2 separate regions of the Homo sapiens genome follow, and region 2 is linked to region 1. Evidence: promoter capture Hi-C in 16 types of primary human blood cells and fetal thymus (Javierre and others, 2016). All regions are on one chromosome and are shown on one strand. Each heading gives the region's core, a stretch centred on a gene start or on the middle of the fragment in contact. The rest is flanking DNA. Distances are from core to core; before and after follow the strand shown.

Region 1 (3,550 bases), core at 136-2,635:
GCAGGCCCGGCCCTCCCCACCGGACTTCGGCCACCCTGCCTGCCCGCAACAAGTAGGGCCCAGCCCCAGCCCTCTGTGCCCACCCACTGCATCCACGCCATTCCCCCTTACTCATCCTCTTGATCATCATGCCTCACTGCCATTCCCTGCCTAGGGTTCCTGGGGGGGCCGAAGGCATGCGATGCCTTCTGTGAGGTCCATCTTTTGTTTCTTTCACCAGAGGCTCCTTTCTCACCAAGAAGCAGGACCAGGCAGCCCGGAAGATCATGAGATTCCTGCGGCGCTGCCGACACAGGTACTCATCCCTTCTCCCCCTGGGCTTTTGCGTTGCCACCCGTCGTGATCCGCCAGTCTCCTCTGACTCCTATCTTTCTCTCTGCAGGATGAGGGAACTGAAGCAGAACCAGGAGCTGGAAGGGCTTCCCCAGCCGGGACTGGCCACATGACCTGGCCACCGCCTTTCTCACCACCCTGGGGGCGCCTCGTGCAGTCTTAACAGGGAGAGGGCTTTCTGGGGCAGGGGGAGCCCCTGTCGGCAGCTTTCCTGTTCACCTTTGTTGGAGCCCTCTGTAGGCCTCCTCCCTCCTCCCCACGCCTTGCTCCCACACCCCTCTCCTCGTCCCTCCTGGTCGTGCCCCGTCTCTTTTGGTCCTGGCTCCAGAAAACCCGCGCCCCACATACCTGCATCTTCCGCTGTGACCTCCGGAGCCCTGCCTGCCCCTGCTCCCCAGCTCCTCCTGCCTGCACCCGACTCGGCCCCCTCCTGACTTGCCTTATTTATTTGTTCGACGCGTCTCTGAATGTATCCGCCTCGGTTCCCACCACTGCCTTCGCTGCGCACGCCCCTCGTGTTTCAGGGCTGACCGTGTCCCCACCCGACTCCGCATGTTTGCGTCTGTTTCCTCCCTCTCTGGCCCTGTCTTACCCCATCACCCGACTCTGGCCACTGACCTCAGGGCCGAAGGGGAGGTGGTGTACATAGGAACGCGTTGCGGAGTCCGCCCCGTCCCCCGAGGGGAGGGGTCTTGTACATACTGTAACATACAGAGTATAGTGAAGAATCTATTTAAGGCGCCGCGGGGAGGGCTGCACGGCCGGGCTTGTGGTTCTCTAGCGCGGCGGGGGCCTCCTGCCGGCTCCACGGGCACTTTCTACTTGTGCATGGGCTTGGTTTATACGAATTGCCATTAAACATCGCTGCACCAGCCAGCCTCCGGCCTCTGTCTGCGGGGGCGGGGCGGGGCCTAGGCCAGCTGGAGGCCGCCATGCACCGCGGGCCTGGGATCTGCGCCCAGGCCAGGCGGGCCCAGGGTTTTCCGCCTCCGACGTGTTTCCGGCCTTAAAGGCATTCCGCCCTTCCCTTTAAGACGCACCGCCCCCTCTCAGTCACTCCCAAGATGGCGGACCTACTGGGCTCCATCCTGAGCTCCATGGAGAAGCCACCCAGCCTCGGTGACCAGGAGACTCGGCGCAAGGCCCGAGGTGAGGATCCCAAATTCACAACCGCCTTCCTTCGCCCGGTTCTCGGGACCATACTTCTCCCTCTTTGGACGATGCCGCCTCCTCAACCTTGAAAGACCCCTCACAGGCCCCTTCCGAGACCCTCAGAGTCCCTAAAAGGGCTGCTGACACGCCCGCTGTTCTTAGCGGACAGTGATTGGCTACCTGAAAGATAGCGCCAGCCTCCTGCCTCTTCTCCCGACCCTGGCCTTCCGCAGTCCTTGTTTCCCATTAGCCGGCCGTCCCGCCTGTCCGCTGCTGACCTGGTCTGATTGGTAGGGTGCCTCCAACCTGCCGCATTCCTGCCCCGCTCACCTCTAGCTCTATTTCGATTGGATTTAGGACACGCCATCTACTGTGCCTTCATCTCTATTGGCTATCTCAACTTAAAGCTCTGCCTCCTCAGGCCTGTTCGACCTTCCTTCGAAACCACCCCAGCCTGCGAATTCCCATTGGTTGCAGGGTCCTCTGTGTGTTCTTGCCCCTCCTGCTTAATTTAACCCAGTCCCTTCTGCCTCCCTCCGACAACCTTTTTCCCATCCGTAGCCTTAAATTCCCGAGCTGCCCGGGCGGATCGTAGTGTTGATTGGAGGGATGAGAATACCCGCCGGGTCCGATTGGCCACTGTCTCCGCCTGCGTTCTCGGAGTAGCTTCCCTGCGGGTGGGCTGGAGTTCGGCGGCCGGCGTAGGGCGCGGCCCTGCAGGGCGGTGGGAGCCTCCCCGGGGCTGCTCGTGTTGCAGCTTGGGATGATACTGGCGGAACGCAGGACCCCAACTCCCAAACCTGCGGACCTTGACCACGGACGAGCCCTGTCCCAGCTCCCCACGTGCCCCAGGGGGACCAGAGCAGGCAGGACGCCTTCCAAGTATTCAAGGGCCGCTGGTTGCCTACGCTTCGTCCCCTTGTTTCTTGAACAACCGTTAGGGACCAGGGGTACCCCTCAGGGAGGCCACAGTCCGGGGCTGGGGCGCTCATTGATGCAGTGATCACACGTAAGTTTAATAACCAACTTGATAAGTGCTCTGAGAGAAAAATAACTGTGAGAGCGGCCACCTGAGGTTCTCCCCCAATCTGCAGTGAGCCGAGATCAGAACAGGTAATTCCGTAAATGAGAGAGAGAAGCAAAGCGTTACAGGCAGAAGAGTCTATTTGAAATCTCTGAGAAAGGAGGAAGCATGATGGGAATGGGGAACTGGAATTCTCTAATGCTCCGATGACTGTCTAAGTGGGGGATCACCCGGCATTGACAGACTGGGAAGCTTAAATGAGTCACTCGCCTGAGGTCACATGGTTAGTTTGGTAAGTGGCAGGGTTTCAAACCCAGGTATGACTGGGCTCGAAGCCTATGTTCTTGACCATAATCTTGTGCCACTTCTCTAGATGCAGAGAAGACTCGAAAACCAGTTAAAGAACAGTCAGTGGGGCCCGGCCTTGTAGCTCACACCTTTAATACCACCACTTTGGGAGGCCGCGGCGGACGGATCGCTTGAGCCCAGGAGTTCAAGACCAGTCTGGGCAACATGGAGAAACCCCATCTCTACAAAAAATACAAAAATTGGCCGGGCTCACGCCTGTAATCCCAAAACTTTGGGAGGCCAAGGCGGGCAGATCACGAGATCAAGAGATCGAGAGCATCCTGGCCAACATGGTGAAACCCCGTCTCTACTAAAAATACGAAAATTAGCTGGGCGTGGTGGCGCGTGCCTGTAGTCCCAGCTACTCAGGAGGCTGGGGCAGGAGAATCAGTTGAACCCAGGAGGAGGAGGTTGCAGTGAGCCGAGATTGCGCCACTGTACTCCAGCCTGGCGACAGAGCGAGACTCCGTCTCATAAATAAATAAATAAATAGATAAATAAATAAATAAATAAATAAACATTAGCTGGGCTTGGTGGCGCGCTCCTATGGTCCCAATTCTCGGGAGGCTGAGGTGGGAGAATCGCTTGAGTCTGGGAGGTTGAAGCTGCAGTGAGAGGTGATTGCGCCACTGCACTCCATTTTGGGCGATGAAGTTGAGACTGTTTCCAACAACAAAAGATGAAATGCGCTGA
Region 2 (3,364 bases), core at 658-3,157, 440 kb before region 1:
CATTAAGCACTTCTACCTTAGAGCATTTGCTCTCCACCTCAACTGCTCCTTCCCTAGTTAACCACAGACTTGCTCTCTTACTTCCTTCAGATCTTTGCTCAAATATCTTATCAGAGTCTTTCCTATACCAAGTAGTCTAAAGTAGCACCTCCATCAATACCCTCTTACCCTACTTTATTTTTCATGATATTTTCTGAGTTTATGTTCCATCTTTATTTCTTCTCTTTTTGTGGTATTTCTCTCTCTAGAGGGCAGGACATTTGTTTAATTCACTGACATATTCCCAGACCCTAGAAAAGTACCTGGCACAGAGTAGGTGCTTTGCGAGTATTTGTAGAACTTACGGATCCTGCTGCTCAGAGACAACTGTTGATGTTTTCATGTGTTTTCCTGTTTCCTTTTTGCATTTATGTGTGTGTATATAATAAATTTTTGCTATTTGTATATCTGTGTATTTAAACTATTTAAGATGAGAGTAGAACCAAATAATTTTATGGCCAGCTTTTTTCACTTAATTTCATGAGAATTTTTTTTTTTTTTTTTTTTTTGAGACGGAGTTTCGCTCTTGTCGCCCAGGCTGGAGTGCAATGGCACAATCTCGGCTCACTGCAACCTCCGCCTCCCAGGTTCAAGCAATTCTCCTGCCTTAGCCTCCCAAGTAGCTGGGACTACAGGCACCTGCCACCACGCCCAACTAATTTTTGTATTTTTAGTAGAAACGGGGTTTCACCATGTTGGCCAGGCTGGTCTCGAACTCCTGACCTCAGGTGATCCACCCACCTCGGCCTCCCAAATTGCTGGGATTACAGGCATGAGCCACTGCACCCAGCTGAGAATTTTTAAATGTTAACATTCTTCATAATCATTTTTTGTCTTTTCAGTCCATTGCCTACAAATTCCATACATACCCACCTCCTGTTATTAGACATTTTGTGTTTTTGTTTTGTTTTGTTTTTCTTTTTACTTTTTGTTGTTTTTGTTTTTAACAAGTTGGTTTTTACATCTCTTTCCAGAAGGGCGTATACCGCATCTCTAGGAGAGACAGCAGTTGCATTTGACTTTGGGCCATTGGCAGCAGTCCCAAAGACTCTATTTGGACAAAACGGCAAAGATGAAGTAGTGGCATACCCACTGTACATCTTATATGAAAATGGAGAGACTTTCCTGACATACATCAGTCTGTTACACAGGTAAGTTGAGGTGGTCACCCACCTGAAATGAAAACTCAGTTTGGGCTCCAGTAGATATCATTGAGGCTGGACTTGGGAGCCATGTTTTTGAGTCTGTGGAAATGTTGCAGCCTTCACATGCTTGGCTTGCATATTTTTGAGAAAGAGTTAGTACAGGTCATTTGGCCTTTCATTTCTTCATATTATTTGGGTAAGTTCTATAGAATTCTTGGATAATCACTTATGATAGGCCTGGATTTGTGTTCACAAATTCTAGTTATCCGAACAAGTGCTTATTGTTTATCTTATATGAACAAGACACCACGTAGGCGTGGTAATCTGGTATCTTATGTCCCAGTTGTGGGGAGAAAGATACATACACATGAAAAAATACTATCCATACCACAGTATTGGTACACAGACAGTAAGAACCCCGAGGAAGGAGAGATCATTCTGACTGGGAGGTTAAGGAAATTTTCGTAGAGAAGGAGTGGTGTCATGTGTGACTTAAAGGTCTCATTCAGGATTAAATGAAGTATCAAGGAAGAGTGAGACCATTTCTGTCAAGGGCAGCATAAAGTAGCGTCTGAAAATAAGCAAGTGCAAGTGTCATTCAAGCTTAATTTATTAGACATTCTGGGCTAGAGCTGAGGATTCATGTAGGGAGCATTAAGTGATAAAGCTGGAGTATCTGTCCCGAGAAAATTTGCTGGAATTAAAAATACCTCGTTAAAAGAGTGAGTGTGGGTTTTTTTTCTGTAGGAATAGGGTAGTAGGAAGCCAGTGATGGTTTCTGAACAGAAGGACAAAACAATTGGTTAGGGAGGGGACTGGGACAGAGACTTTTAAAGAAGCTTTTGCAAAATTGAGCTTGTCATTTATGAGAGTTTGAACTTGGGTGGTAATAGAACAGAGGGAAAAATGAAACACAGTAGATAACAACAAAGGAAGGATAAATAAGACTTAGTTACTGTTTGGATAAGGGAGTATGCCATGAACAGAAACAGGTCAGTAAAGGCTGCTAATTGGGGGAGAAGATTTATTTCTAAGTAAATCAGTGTAAGATAGTATTGGACCAATAAAATGGAAATATTCCATGGACAGTTGGAAATACAGGATGATGACAGACAAGAAGAATTAAAATAGAGGTATGAGAATCATCTTTCATGGTGAGAGAGTCTATACAGGATAAGAATTTGAGGGAAAACTGCAGAGGCATAAGGCTAAGGGCTGAGCATTAGAGTTTATTCGCTTGTAAATCGACTTAACAGATACTTATTCAGGACCCACTCTGGCAGAAGATGGAAATACAAGATTGAAGGCAAGGTTCCTGCCATGTGGTTCCTTAACTACCAGAAGGGCATACAACTAAACCAGTAACTATAGTACAGTGTCATGTGCTCAGGGCATCACCGGGTTCTTCAGGAGTGTGATGGAGTAAATGAGTAGGCCTGCTCATCTTGGAAGACTTTAAGGAAATGCTATTACAAAAGCTTGAACTTGAAGGATTCACTAGACAGAATCAGAAGTGGGTACAGGAGAGAGAAGAGAGTACGCAAAACCATAAAGATTAGAAAGATGAAAGAGCTCGGTAGGTTACAGAATGGTGAGGATTCACTGTTGAGTGCATTCTCCTTGGCAGAAATGTTCTCTGCCTTTCACACATGATCTCAGGAGGATTTTGTGGTAACTTTAGTACCTTCCCTTACCCTTTCTCCTCTTGCTGCTGAGCCCTCATTTGTCCAAACCATGATCTGCCTAGTAACGTTAGCCCAAAACCCAAAAGTTTTCTTCATCCTTACATTTCATCAGTCCCAAATTTCTATTGATTTTGTGATTTAAATTTTTCGAAAGTATACACCAAGCTTGTCCAACCCACGGGCTGCGCGCAGCCCAGGACAGCCTTGAATGCAGCCCAACGCAAATTTGTAAACTTTCTTAGAACATTATGATATTTGTTTGCGATTTTCTTTTCTTTTCTTTTTTTTTTAAAGCTCATCACGTATTGTTAGTGTATTTTCTGTGTGGCCCAAAACAATTGTTCCAGTGTGGCCCAGGGAAGCCAAAAGATTGGACACCCCTGATTATACACCCTTCTCTGCATTCCTCTGTCCCTGCTTCAGAACTGCATCATCTGCCTACTTCACCATCTGCCTGGCTTATTTTCTTAAATAGTTTCCCCAAATCCCATTTTG

What was found. Contacts are between HindIII fragments. The CHiCAGO score rates a contact against its expected background, and 5 or more counts as called.
Region 2: a fragment that was not itself captured here is called in contact with the fragment with the promoter of SPAG7 in region 1 in 1 of 17 cell types (naive B cells); the score reaches 6.2 in naive B cells.

The regions. Positions count from the first base shown.
Region 1 is chr17:4,965,652-4,969,201 of GRCh38, reverse strand. It overlaps SPAG7 (sperm associated antigen 7), which reads left to right and starts at 1,385. Exons shown (of 7, transcript NM_004890.3): 1 at 1,385-1,482. The coding sequence starts at 1,398. CAMTA2 (calmodulin binding transcription activator 2) reads left to right here. Exons shown (of 23, transcript NM_015099.4): 21 at 1-52; 22 at 221-295; 23 at 383-1,205. The coding sequence ends at 446. It overlaps LOC124900387 (a long non-coding RNA gene), which reads left to right and starts at 1,489. Exons shown (of 2, transcript XR_007065587.1): 1 at 1,489-2,801; 2 at 2,883-3,380. RefSeq lists enhancers at 1-307, 1-340, 308-985, 986-1,662, 1,250-1,749 and 2 more and a silencer at 1,160-1,239. The HindIII fragment of the contact is 6,795 bases long and covers 1-2,763 here.
Region 2 is chr17:5,406,559-5,409,922 of GRCh38, reverse strand. It overlaps NUP88 (nucleoporin 88), which reads left to right. Exons shown (of 17, transcript NM_002532.6): 5 at 1,014-1,190. Among named protein-coding and RNA genes, the nearest start is that of NUP88, 11 kb to the left of the region's middle. The HindIII fragment of the contact is 236 bases long and covers 1,790-2,025 here.